Regions from separate parts of the Homo sapiens genome. Here all the other regions are linked to region 1. Evidence: promoter capture Hi-C in 16 types of primary human blood cells and fetal thymus (Javierre and others, 2016). All regions are on one chromosome and are shown on one strand. Each heading gives the region's core, a stretch centred on a gene start or on the middle of the fragment in contact. The rest is flanking DNA. Distances are from core to core; before and after follow the strand shown. Region 1 holds the start of CNOT6L (CCR4-NOT transcription complex subunit 6 like). Region 2 overlaps LOC124900721 (a long non-coding RNA gene). Region 3 holds the start of SEPTIN11 (septin 11).

Evidence for each region. Contacts are between HindIII fragments. The CHiCAGO score rates a contact against its expected background, and 5 or more counts as called.
Region 2: a fragment that was not itself captured here is called in contact with the fragment with the promoter of CNOT6L in region 1 in 1 of 17 cell types (total B cells); the score reaches 5.1 in total B cells.
Region 3: the fragment with the promoter of SEPTIN11 here is called in contact with the fragment with the promoter of CNOT6L in region 1 in 1 of 17 cell types (naive CD8 T cells); the score reaches 7.7 in naive CD8 T cells.

The regions. Positions count from the first base shown.
Region 1 is chr4:77,817,000-77,821,734 of GRCh38, forward strand. CNOT6L (CCR4-NOT transcription complex subunit 6 like) reads right to left here and starts at 2,369. Exons shown (of 12, transcript NM_144571.3): 1 at 2,305-2,369. The coding sequence starts at 2,309. RefSeq lists silencers at 1,666-2,065, 2,146-2,215, 2,706-2,805, 2,846-3,005, 3,266-3,415. The HindIII fragment of the contact is 6,822 bases long and covers 1-4,735 here.
Region 2 is chr4:78,618,165-78,622,630 of GRCh38, forward strand. The region is part of intron 1 of LOC124900721 (a long non-coding RNA gene); the gene reads left to right. Among named protein-coding and RNA genes, the nearest start is that of LINC01094, 26 kb to the right of the region's middle. The HindIII fragment of the contact is 1,822 bases long and covers 1,024-2,845 here.
Region 3 is chr4:76,947,065-76,951,332 of GRCh38, forward strand. It overlaps SEPTIN11 (septin 11), which reads left to right and starts at 2,688. Exons shown (of 10, transcript NM_018243.4): 1 at 2,688-2,866. The coding sequence starts at 2,840. It overlaps LOC105377294 (a long non-coding RNA gene), which reads right to left and starts at 2,501. Exons shown (of 3, transcript XR_001741739.2): 1 at 1,899-2,501. RefSeq lists an enhancer at 1,473-1,552 and silencers at 2,463-2,642, 2,673-2,982. The HindIII fragment of the contact is 7,046 bases long and covers 1-4,268 here.

The DNA.
Region 1 (4,735 bases), core at 1,119-3,618:
TCTAAGAAGTTTTATTTACCAAATCAGTCAACATGAGCTAGCATTTTTCGTAGCATTTAAACTTTGGGGATCTATCTAAATTTTGGTTCCTTGATCCTTTTTAATGTTTAACTGTATTGAAACATACATGTGCTATATAGAGGTTGAAAATTTTTTTCCAGGGCTACAAAACGAAAATCATAAAGAATAATGAAACTGAGAGATGGTCTATTTGAAAATATGAAAAAAAAATTAAGTATGACTATTTTTATAAATAACTAGGCTATTTTAATGACTATTTTTATTATTAGAAAAAAACTTCTTATATACATTAAAGTTTATATATATACCTTTTGTATACTGAAGGGCTCTGAAAGATTCCATTGTCTTTTTTACGTTATAGTTACTTAATATTGCTCTAAATAATTAATCATATTTGTGTTTGCAAAGGTTCTTCAATGCCCATAGTCAGGGCTGCAGGAGGCAGAACTAAAATTTAACTAAGCATCTACTACATGCCAAACATATGTTTTCTCATTCTATTCTCAAAACGACCTTACTATAAAGGTATTAGCTCTCTGTGACTGATAAAACTGTGGCTTATAGATATGTTACCTAAGGTCAAACAGCTAAGGAAAAATCACACAGCTGGGAGGCTAACTGAAGTCTGTAAAACAAGTCCTTTTCCCACTAACTACGTATGTTAAATTGTTTTTCCAGTAGTGGTAATAGAGAACAGCTCTTCGCCCCTCCTTCTCTTCCCTCCACTTCCCCGTGAACAGCATACACTATTTCTTTGTGAGACCAGGTGCAAAGAGCAATCTCTGGCCATGACACAGAGTACGGCCTACAAGGATCGAAACTGTATTATGCTTTTATCCACAGCACGGTTCTAGCTAAATGATCTAACTACATACAAATGTAATGAGGTTGGAGTAGAAAAGCACATTAGCAAATAATTATCCAAATGCCATTTGTATTTGGTTCTGAAATGTACTGTAGACCTATTGGCAGCAGGTTTATCTTTACAACTGGGTTTTGCTTAGGCTATTCTCAAAATAGCTTTCCAGCAGCACATACTGAGTAGACAACAGAGGTTGCTTGATCTAGTTTTTGGAGACTGAGGAAAACATGTTTGTTGAGCCTATCTTGATTGACAAGATAACTAGAGGCAATACGGTAAAATGTAACACTGTGCTTCCAATGTGTACAAACGGCTCAGCTAAACTCCCTGAACACAATCCACCTAAACAGTCTAAGCTCAATAGCCGACCGAGTTAAGCAGGATGACAGCTCCAGTAACTTCCTCTTCCTCACCCAGCTCCTCAGCTCGGCGGCGCGTACACGCCTCTCCCCCTAGGAGGCAGGATAAAACAATTTCAAATGCACAAAATCCATCCAATCCCACAGGCCAGGAAAGCCAGTTTCCCTTTCTTCCTCAGCCCTTCCAAGAAAATGTTTGTCTAATTAAAAAAAAAAAAATCTTACCAACGGCAAAGTATTTGCAACAAAAATCCAAAATATTTACTCAGTCCCTCCACACAGCCTTAGGGGAAGGATGAAAAGAAGGGAACACGACACCGCGTATTCCCAAGACTGACTGTTCTGATTCACTTTCCTCCCTCGGGTCCCACAGCCGGCCGGGCGAAGGCTTGCAGTTGGAACGCCAAAATAAGCCTTCGCCTCTCAGGAGACGCGGAGGCGGCCACGGCGACGGCAATCGGCGAGTCCCGCCTCCGACCCTCACCTGCCCAGGCCCGAGGCAGCGCCGTGGGCTCGCGCGGGCTCGCCGTCCCGGGAGGCGTCCGGGGAGGTGGGCGGGCGCCCAGGCAGTTAGGCCGCGCTGCAGGCCGGCGCGCTTCCTGCCGCGGCCGGGGAACGGCGGCCCCGGGATCAGCGGCGCGGCACCGACCAGCAGCTCTCCCAGCCCCGCTGCCGCGCGTGTGCCGCACTCACTCAGCCCTCCCCGGCCGGCCCCCTAGGAGCAGCTCTCACCTGCGAGGCTCGGGAGCCGCAGCCACAAAGCGGGAGGGACACGCCACTCTGGGGTCCCGGCCCCGGGCCACCCCCGACACACACACACACACACACACACACCCCGGAACCTTCGCCCGCCTCTGAAGAGACGCGGGTCAGCCCCGCCGCCCCCTCCAGTCACCCGACACACACCCACTCGCCGTGGGTCCTCGGGCCGCCTCCCCGCCCGCCAAAGTCCCAACTCGCACACCCACACGCACATTTGTCCCTCTCCCACCTCATTTCCCCGGGGACGCGCTCCTCTTCCCAACACTCTCGGTCCTACTCGGAGGCAAAAGAACACTCTACCTCATTCTCTTCCTCTGGCCCAGAAGCAACAGCAGCCATTTCCCCGCGGCAGGGGAAACACACACACAAACACGCGCGCGCGCGCGCACCAGGCCCCCACAGATGCTTCCCCTCCAGAGCCGCGGCCGCAGACGCAGACGCAAACACAAACACCCACGGCGGGCCTCGCTCCCGCCCGCCCCGAGGGGAAGCCGCGGCGGCACACAGGGCCCGTAACCGGGGCTCGCGGGCGGGCGCGCAGGGAACCCGGGCCCGGGGTCTCGGGGGGCCCGCGCCCCCTCCTCACCTGCATTCAGCGCGCCGGGGTCCGGGCGGCGGCGGCGGCGGCGGCGACGGGGCGGCTGGTGCTGGTGCTGCGGCGGCGGGGGAGGCGGCGGCGGCGGTGGCGGCGGGGCTGAGGGCAGCAAAGACATGCAGGCAGCCCGCCGGAGGGGAGAGGCACCGGCCGGAGGGGATGCGGGGCGGGCGGGCCGGGCCGGGCCGCCTGACGAACGGCAGAGGCGGCGGCGCGGAAGGCGGCTGAAGGGAGCGAGGAGACAGACCGGGGGTCGGGAAGGGGGACGAGGGCCGCGCCGCCGGGCTTCGAGGACAGTGACCCCAGGCGCGCAAGAGAGGCCCCGCGGCCGCGGCCGCCGGCGCGAAGGCCCCAGCCGAAGGAAGCTGCGCCCCCGCAGGGCCGGAGCCGCGGCTACTGCTCCGAGAGCCACGCAGAGCCTGGCCTTGGCCTTGGCCTCCTGGTGCTGGGGCTGCCGCCGCTGCGGGGGTTGCCGCTGCGCCGGGTGCTGCTGGGGCCGAGGTTGAACAGAGACGCCAGCTTTCGGTGCCTTCGCTCCCGCTCACACACGTTCACACCCCCGAGGGCCGGGGGAGAGGCGTCCGGGCGATATCGGTATTGAGATTAATAACAAGGTGCAGAGAGTGCGAGAACGAGGAGGGTTGATTGACGTGGAGGGGCTGGCGGGAGTCAGTCACTCCCCGGCGCGGAGGGTTGGGGTGAGGGGAAGGAGGCGGGGCGGTGACGGGGCGGAGCTCCTACGCAGCGCCTTGGCCCCGCCCCCCGTGCGCCGCGTTTTGTCGCGGTGAGCGCGCGGAGGCCCGGGCTTCTTAATGGTTTTCTGTTTTGCTCTGGCTGTTTTCTCACTCTTTTTTCCTGGCCTGAGCGAGGAGCGGGGCTGAGAAGAGTGGTAGAGTTTCAGAAACCCACATCCACAGAGCCTTGGCGAAGAGACGGGAAACCGCCTCACCCCGGGTTCTTGTGTGGGCGCTGTTTACTGCACCCTCCTCGCCCGAGGCGACCTGACAGCGAAGCAGAGCGTAGGTCTAGGTGGCTGAGACGCCAGGGGAGGTGAAGTGACCGAAGGAAATGTTTCCTGACATATTCGGTGGATTTTTTTTAAAAACATATAGCATCTGTAAGTTGTATCGTCAAAGGTAAATAAAAGAACCTGTGACGCTCAGCGATAACCCGGTCCTATTTTCTAATTCTCCCTTCTCGTTGTAGACTTTAGTTTGTTGTTTGTAGCTTATCCATGCCATCTACAGAATGAAAACATCCAAATGCAAACTAGAAATAGTAGTGTTTACTTGGTGAACCTGGCTGTGATACTTTAAGTTTCTGGGGTTTGTTTTTGTTTTTGTGGGCCAGCTTCAGCTTTTTTGGGCCAGCAGTCCAAAAAGCAAATTACACCGGCTGTGGAGGCAGAGTACTGCTGTTGCAGTTTTGCACAATTTTAATCTCTTTCTCAATGCATGCCCGGGCTCGTGTATTTACCAGTGTTGGTCAAGGGTATATTAGCAATGTTCAGTATTTTTTCCCCCACAGGAGTGTTTAGCACACTAAGCACGTTGCGTTGGTTGCAATTCATCTTAGGCCTTATTACTGAATGTAAAATGCCTTCATCTCTTGGGGGAAAAGGTGCGGTGAAAATGCAAATCATCATTTAGCTAAAACTGAACAGCTGTTACAAGAGTCCATAATTGCAGAACTATTGCACCACTTTCATCTTGGCACCAGGATGGGTGAATGAGTGAGTAAAAAAGCCCCTCAGTTCACAAGACGACAGACTATTTTCTTTTCTACCTATGTTAATTTTCCATTTCCCTCCCTAGCAACACCAGCCCCACACCATCTTCTGTGAAACATGTCAAAATGGCCTTAAGCCTGGAAGAAGTCTCACTCTTTCCCAACTATCTAAGAGTCTAGGCTGACATAAAATGAATAATTATCTTTGGCTTTGTAAGCAGCAAAGCCAAGCAAGTCACTTCAGGAGTCCAAATAGTGGACCTGCCTCAATGGCATCTTGCCACAGTATTTCTCCGTAGCACACAAACACTCTCCCAGGGAGAAATACCACCAATTATAGAAGGAAAGAGGAAAATAAATACCTGAAAAAATGTAAATCAGATAATGTGATAGCCTCACAGATTTAAG
Region 2 (4,466 bases), core at 685-3,184, 800 kb after region 1:
CCCCTGGCCTTCCCTTTCCTAGATGTGAAGGAAAGATGCCAGAGCCATACAATGTTGGTTTCAGTACCACCAACTTGCCGTGTAACTTTCGGCAAATTACTTAGCCTCGCTGATCCATCATTTCCTTTTGTTTCTAAGATAGGAGTAATAATTTATCAATTCATAGTGCCAGGAAGACCCAGGTGCCAGGAAGGATGGAATGCTTAGATCTGTCATGGAAGATACAAGGAATTAGATGAGGAAACACAAGTAAAGGAATTAGCACAATATCTGAAATATGTAGTCATTGGCTATTATTTACATCTTTCCCCAATTTCCCAGTCTCTTTTGCTGTTATCAAGTATATGCATAAGGTCTTTTTTATTTTGAAAGACTTAGTCATTATGGGAAAATTGACAAAGGACTGCAAATTCTGTATAATCATGTGGAACTTTCACAACTTAACCAACTGCACCACATTCTTGACCTCTCTGTGCAGGCAGAGAGAATTCAGCTCCCTTTGGACTGTGGCTTTATAACCTCACATGCTCTTCTCAGCCAACCGACCTGAAGAGCCAGTAGGCATTGACTTGCATTCTTTCAGAGGTCCTCTTGTTTCAATAATAATAAGCACCATTTCTTAACACTCACTATGAGCAATTCATATATTTTGTCTCATTTTGACTTTATAACAACACCATGAGGCAGGTAACCTTATCTCAATTTACTAGTCTGGAAAGAGGCTCAGAAACGTTAAGACCACTCTAGATATAGTTCTGGAGCCACAAAACAAACTGAGATTTCTATACAGTAGATCCAAAATCTATACGCTTGACTCTCTCACGCTGGGACCATGATACAGCAGTAGCAACAGTTACAAAGCTCTTTACTTTAGAGGCCCGTTTCTTGGGCTCTGGGGTTGGGAGGTAGGTCTGAACACTTGGGTGTCTCATAAATTCTCTGACTTCACACACTGAGCAACTTCACCACACATCACTGGCATCTAACGGTCAGTAATACTGAAGTCTAAATAAGTCTCTCAGAAGCTTACATATCAATAATATAAAGTCATCTAGTACAGGACAGAAGCCACCTTGATAGAGCCAAGTCAGTATCTTTCAATCTGACAAGACTGGTCAGGAGGCTCTCAGACCAGAAGGTAATATCTTCACTTGCTGAGCACTGTACTATCCGAAGTTCAAAACTATAGACTGTGCCACAGCGGGGCACATGTGCAAGGGCAGAGTTGGAGCCCTGAATAAACAGTTCACCATTACTTACAGAATTTCCCTGGTTCCATGTTTCCCCCTTTCTTTTTTGGGGGGAAGGATGTGAATTTTTCTTCTTTTTCTCCAGCAGTAGCAGTACTGAAACCATTCAGCAACGAGGATTTGGCAGCTTCTAAGGGTCATGTCGTTGGTGGGTGCAGTTTGAGTTGAAGTGATTGCAGACGTGCAGACAAACACACAGAAATAGAGGTTCAGTAGGGCCTGGGCCTAAGCCCTGGGGAAAGCTACAGTTACTTCAGTGGAAGGGGAGTAGGAGCCAACAGAGCAAATGGAAGGAAGAGCAGGAAGATGATGCCGCACTCCGGAGGAGAAGCAGCAGAGTTGCTCTCTGTACCTGCAAGCCAATGGAGAAGTTTATCATAAGACAGTAATGAACTAATAACACACCGCTGACCGGTGACACACAGCAATAGTGGCAACTGTTGAAGAACTACTGTGTGCTCAGCGTCACGCTACATGCTTTAGAGAAGCCCTTAGGGCACAGTGGAGTTAGAAGTACGTTATTTATTAGGAATGACTGTACATAGGATAAAAAAAAAAGAAATAGGTCATTTATCCTAACTCTTACAGCAACTAGCTTTGAGAAAGTGAGCAGCTTATTCAATCTCTCTGAGTATTAATTTCATCTGAGAAATTGGAGTAATAATATCCATATTACTCATTTAGCCTATCAATGTGAACTGAAAGCCTACTGTGTACTAAACACTACTCTAAAAGCTGCATATACATGTAAAAATTTACTACCTGTTCGGCTGGGCGCGGTGGCTCAAGCCTGTAATCTCAGCACTTTGGGAGGCCGAGGCGGATGAATCACTTGAAGTCAAGAGTTCGTGACCAGCCTGACCAACATGGTGAAACCCAGTCTCTACTAAAAATACAAAAATTAGCCGGGCATGGTGGCGCACACTAGTAATCCCAGCTACTCAAGAGGCTGAGGCAGGAGAATTGCTTGAACCTGGGAGGCAGAGGTTGCAGTGAGCCTAGATAATGCCACTGCACTCTAGCCTGGGTGACAGAGCGAGACTCCATCTCAAAAAAAAGAAAAAAAAATTCAGTGCCTGTTTTCATGGAACTTACAGTCTATAATAAAGATAAGAATGATCAATTATATTAAATGCCTGGGATTTGGCACTTATTTCATTTAATCCTCACAGCAATCCTATGTTTAGTGTGCTCTTTTCACGTCAACATTATCTGCTGTTGTTAAATGTTAAATGAAAATAAGTCAAGGCAGATCTGAGAAAACTATTGAGTACTAGGTTCGTCTTAACTGTGAAAGTGGCCATTGTTAGTTGATGGTTATGTATAATTAGTTAGTTTGAGAATGTGGGGTATATATTTCATATTCAAAAGCGAACTCCTGCCTCTGTCAGTCAATATTTGTGGTCCACCATCATTCTTAGCATCTAGTCCAACGCCTGGCACATATTAGATTATCAATACATAATTGTTAAATTAAATTGAGTACTTATTATATGCCAGACATCACTTATTCTGCAAATTGCATTTTATCTGATCTTTGTTCTTAGAAATTATATAAGGGCCTCTGGGAGAAACAGTAAGATTCTGGCCTACTAAGCTTTAGTGTGCTGTGTCAATAGTAATTGAATCAGGGAACAGGGTCAAAACCAGTCTTAGATGAAGAGTTTTTTCCCTTCTCTGACATAACCCCTCTATTTCTACTCTGAACCCATCTCTTATTACCCAGGACATTGCTAATAATGATGGGTGGTCCCAAGGTTCTGCCCTTGCATTTCTGCTCCACTAGAAAATACTTGGATTTTTGAGACTTTAAATAACAGTTCCAGAACTTACTAGCTTGGTAATTTTTGTGAAGTTGCTTACTCTTAATTTCTCAGTTTCTTCTTCTATAAAATTGAGATAATGCCAACTTCTATGGTCAAGAAGATTAAATTAAAATGATACATCCAAGAATACCTAAGACAATGAATAAAAGGATAGGAAGCTAGAAACAGGGATAGTTACATTTACAGTAAAGCTAGTTAGATAGGAAACATAGAAGGTTCTTGGTGCTCCATAGATGTCCCTGACACTCAGCATTTCCTACGTTCTGACTCTCCTTACTGCAAGTGCCGGTGACCCTGCTGCAGCCTTTATCTGTCTGTGGGAGCTGACCACACTTGGGTCAGAACAGAAGTGTCAGGGAGTAACACCCCTGGGGTGGCTCTCAACCAGTGACAGATGGAGGCCATGGATAAATACCACAGGCTCTTGCCTCCCAAGTGAGACAACTCTGAGGCATGATCTATGCTGCCCCTGAGACCCCCAGGAAGTCTGAGCCCCAGCTGCCCGCAGTGACAACTGACTCACAACACACCCTGTACCGGCTTTCTTTCTTTTTCTGTCTCACTTCTGCACTCACTTCCCAGTGCTTCCTGGGATCCCTGGATCCTTTTCTCAGCATCTGTTTCTGGAGGGACACATCCCAAAATAGGAAGGACTATTTTCAGTAGTCACTATAAAGTAGGAGGTGTAACTGTGTGTAACTTTGTGGGGTTACAGGGTGGAGGAGTTGAGAGAAGAAAACGGAGGCTTTTAGGGTAGAAATCCTCTAGAACAGTGATTCTCTGTGTTGGCGTGCTAGGGAGTCACCAAGTGTTTTGGAAGTGAAATGGAGAGGTAGGAGGAGCACTGGGGTGGCTCAAGTTAGATGGCTCTGGGAAGGAAATGAGCCACAGCTTCAAAGTTCCACCTCTTTCTTCAAAGCACAGTTACCTGGAAACACAAACGAAAACGAATGAGAGGAAGATGAAGAATAGGAGCAATAAGAAGAGGAGGAGGAAATCCCATCTAATTTTATCTACCACATTGCCACCTTATTACTACTTTACATTTATTTCCATGGGTTCTTTGGAAGTGAAGTCCAGAATTTAGGGGCACACAGGGAGTCTATGATTCTAGTAAGCAAGGCAGGAAGCAGTGAAGGCAAATAGAATTAGTGAATGAAATGGGATAGATCATGTGACGCAGGAGAGGTTCCAGGGAAGCTAGAGATGGGCTTCCTGGGTGGGGTGAAGGAGATGACAGGCTGTGGCTGCAAATGGGATAATAGATCTCAGAAACAGAGATTACCCTGAGTGTTAACGACACTGACTAAGGCAGGTCAAAGGTGGAGGTCTTCAACCCAGGAAATACCTCTGGGGTAAAGGAATCTAAAAGGTTAATGTGGATTCCAGA
Region 3 (4,268 bases), core at 1,438-3,937, 870 kb before region 1:
AAAGGACAGACAGCAGGTTGGAGAGTGGATCTGGCTAACAGAACACGTCCTCCCCCAGGACTCACTGTTACTACCCTATTTTACAATAGAAAAAAAAAAAATGAGATGAAAGTTTAACTTATTTGATATAACAAAGCTCATAAGTGATCATCTGTAGCTGAAGTGCCAGGTTCTCCCCACTCTGCCACTCTCTCGCTAAGGCTCCAACATTCTAGCAATGCCAGGATACCCACCCTCCCCATAGCATCTTCACATCCCAAATGAGATGTTGGAATATGTAACGTTAAGTTTTGCTGATTAGAATAAACTAACCTACCCACCAAGGTAGGGCATTCACATTCTTACAATCTAAGCAGATGAGTTTACAGCATATACATTCACAAAATAAATAAGTAAAAAAAAAAAATTTGATAAACAAATTCTACAGTCTGTTCTGGTCAAGATAACACAGTTCCTTTGCAACTGCCCTTACATCCGGTTGGTGGTGTGTGGAGCCCTCTTTTCCCAGGCCTTACATGAGGCCTCTGGTCCATGGGCAGTGCTGCTGCTGTCTGATCCTCCTTATGGAGAAAGGACAAAATGTCCATGTACCAGAGCTGCAGAAGAAAGTATTTGTCTTCCCCCTCCCTTTGCACAGCACCCATCTGTGTGTAATCTTATTATTATATATTTTTTGAGACAGGGTCTCACTGCGTCACCCAGACTGGAGTGTAGTGGCGCGATCTCGGCTCACTGCAACCTCCGCCTCCAGAGTTCAAGCGACTCTCCCACCTCAGCCTCTATAGTAGCTGGGACTACAGGCAAGCGCCACCATGCCTGGCTAATTTTTGCATTTTTTTAGAGCCAAGGTTTCACCATGTTGGCCCACCTCAGCCTCCCAAGGTGCTGGGATTACAGGCGTGAGCCACCGCGCCCGGCCCATTTATGTGTAATCTTAATTCAACACTTATTGAGCGCCTACTGTATGTTTGGCATAAAATGGTGGTCCCTAATTTCAAAAGATTTGGAGTCTAGAGGGCAGAAATTGAAGAGGTTGGTGCTCTGCACGTCTGAGTCCGCCCACAGACTGAATAAATAAGCTCTGCGTCGGCGCCCCTCACCTTTCTTTCATGGCCAGACTTTTCTCTGGCGGTTCCACAGCTGTCCTGACAGTGGAATTCAGACGGGGTGACCAAGCCCCTAGCCCACCTACCAGCGAAATCCAGCATCAGTTCCAGGGCAGCCGGACCCGCGCCCGGGGACGACTGACCCTTAGCCCAAGGCTGCGGGGGCGTCGGAGTCCTGAAGCGCAGGCGAGGCAGGGCCAGCGGGACAGGGAGACTCAAGGCCCCAGGGGATCTGGGCGTTTGAAGACTCAGGTCAGACTCTGAGGCGCCCGTCTAAAGAGACCGGTTGTCTTTTCCCTAATTCAGGAGGCCAGGCTGTCCCTTGGGGCGTCGTACCGAGGGCAGATCACAGCCCTTCCCTCCTCACCACACTCCCTGTGCTTCCACCCAGCTGGTTCCCCGCCCTGTCCATCGCTGTCCTCAATCGCTTGTTGTCGTGGGCCCCCCTCTCCGGCCCACGTGGGGCCGCAGGGATCCACAGCTCATCTGACACACCTCGCTGCCCTGCACGCACCGGGACCCCTCCATTCCGCCGGCCCCTCAGACACGCAGTAACACCCCAACATCTGCTGGGAAAAAAATCTTCCCCACGGCGGAGGAGTTCTCAGTCCCACGCGCCCAGAGTCGCACCCACTCGAGCCACCCGCCTGTTGCCGTCGCCACGCCCTCCAGCCGCAGCCCCAGCGCGCATTCCTACGGGTCGCCGGGTCTGTCGCCAGCGATCGAATGAAGTCGGCTGATCCCCCACGTGTGGCTGCTCCAGTGACACCCAGGGGAGGCCTCGGTCCTTACCCCTAGAGCAACCAATGGCTGCCTTAATTCTTCAGCGGGGGCGTTCTTTTTCTTCCTCCCAAGCAGGCGGCCGTTGGGTCGGCCGAAGGCAGCAGCGACTACTACGGCTCTTCCTCTCCAATGGGATCCCCTGTCTGCCCGCGCGCCACAGTGACAGCTTCCAGATGCCTGTCTTTAGTCTCCCTTCTCAAGGGAAGCGGTGGGCGACCGAGGTGCGGCCTGGAGGGCCCCCATGTGGGAAGGGAAGACTTGCGGAAGGGCAATTCTTCCAGTGCGGAGACGAGGAGGCCAGCCCAGCCGCACTTCGGTCGCCCACCGCTCCGCCTGGTGGTCCGCAGCCCCTTCCAGGCCGGCTTCTCCGGGTGGGGCGTGCTAGTCCGGGGCTAACTTTCCGCCACGTGCTGTCCCTGCGACCCGTCTCCCCCGGTCGCCCTTCCTTCTCCCGGCGGCCGCTGGAGCTGCCCGCTTCGTGGAGCCGGTGGCAGGCCCCGGGGCTGGGAGCTCGCGCCCAGGCTTTTACTCAGATTCCAGCACCTGATGGAGCAGGGGGTGGCGGCCAGCGCACAGGCTGTCGGCATCTCATGGCAGCGGAGACGGTCGTTTGGGGACGGAGGGGCGAGCCCCGCGGCCGGGGCCAGTGGAGCTGGGCTCGGAGCCCGCCCACCATCCTCCCGCCCACCACCGCGGCCGGGCGCGCAGGCTCACACCCCTTCCTGGGGAAGCGAATGGTCCCTTCCAGGCGGGTGGCCATGTTGCTCTAATAAAGCGGGAGGGGCGGCGGCGTGGGGGGAGCAGATGCCGCTGGCTGCCAGCGGGACGCCGGCGAGCAGAGCGCAGCCGCGAGGGAGGCGCGAGGGAGGCGAGCCGGAGCCCGAGCACTAGCAGCAGCCGGAGTCGGCGTAAAGCACCCGGGCGCAGCCGGAGCCGGTGCCGCAGCTGCGATGGCCGTGGCCGTGGGGAGACCGTCTGTGAGTGCTGGGGCCTCGCCTGCTGCTCCTCGGGCGCCGGGTGGTCTCTGCTCTGGGGCGGGTGCGGTGAGGACCACAGGGGAGCCGGGCGGGTGCTCGGCCCCGCGGCGGCGGCGACGGCTGTGGGTGTGTGCACGAATTTGGGCGCGCGTCTGGGGTCGGGGTTAGGAGCCCAGGGGCTCAGTTACGTGATGCAACAGTGGATCGCCTCGTCGCGCCCCTCTTCTGGGAATGCGAAAGAAAAAGGACCCCTCTCCTGTTCCCTTTAAAATAATTCTTTGAGGCGCGGCGTGTCTCAGCCGCCTCCCTCTGCCCGCGCACCTCTTCCCTCGTGACAGCCAGAAGGGCGCCGGGTTCGGGGCTTTCCTCCAGTCTCCCCCGCGCCGAGGGGGCGCTCAGGGCATGGGAATTGCGAGCTGAAGTGCTGCGTGTGGCACTGCTGTAGAAGCAGGTCAGAGGGGTGGGATTTCCGTGGTGGCCTCCCCAGCGCATTGTGAGATCCCGGACACCCTCGGGCATCCACCCGGCTGAGCGGGCCCTGCCCAGGATGTGGACAAAGCCCCAGATAACACACACAAAGTTTTCTGGAGGCTCCCTTGTGGTGTGGGTGGAAGGACTGAAATGTTCTGCGGCTGAAAGGCCGGGGGCGGCGGGCTGAGGAGGCTGGGACGCGAGGAAGAGGAAGGGCGGGCGGGTGCGTGAAGAATCGAGTGCCCCACGGCGGGAGGGAGGAGAGTAGGAGGGAGGAGATACCTTTGCCCCGAGTGTGTGGGCCAAGGCGCCGCGCCTACTGGGTTGCAAGACTCGGTCCGCGCCCCGGGGCCGGGCCGGAGGGGAGCGGGACTCCGAGGGTGCGGTTCAGTGGCCGCTCCGCATCCCCAAGTGAAAGGCGGAGGAAGGGGCGGCGGCGGCCTTTCCTTTTTTTTGAAAGGAGCGGAGCTGGGTGGGAAAGGCGGAGTCCTCCTGTTTTCCCTTTCCCCTTTTCATCGTCGATGTTCACAGTCCACTCGCCTTACTGGCTTTGGGGGCGCCTCGGGCGATGTCTTTCCCTGTCTATCACCTCCTCTTCCCTTTTTCTTCTTCCCTTTCCCACAGCTGTGCAGCTGCAGGTGGTGGCTCGGGAGATTTTGTAGTTACAGACGAAAGACTTACTGAGATACTGGAAGCTCGGAAATCCCAGAAATGCAAGGCTGTGCTCTCAGGCTCCCGGCTCTTCCCCCTCTCCCCGCCTAACTCCTCCCCAGATACGCGCGCCTTTTGCACCCTACCCCCTCGGGAGAAGTTCATGGGTCCCTTTGCGGATTCTAATTCGATTTGGTGGTTCGGCTGCCCGCGGTGCTTTCAAAGACGTTTTCTGCAGTCAGAAAACACAGCGGTCATATCGAATCATGACTGTCTTTTA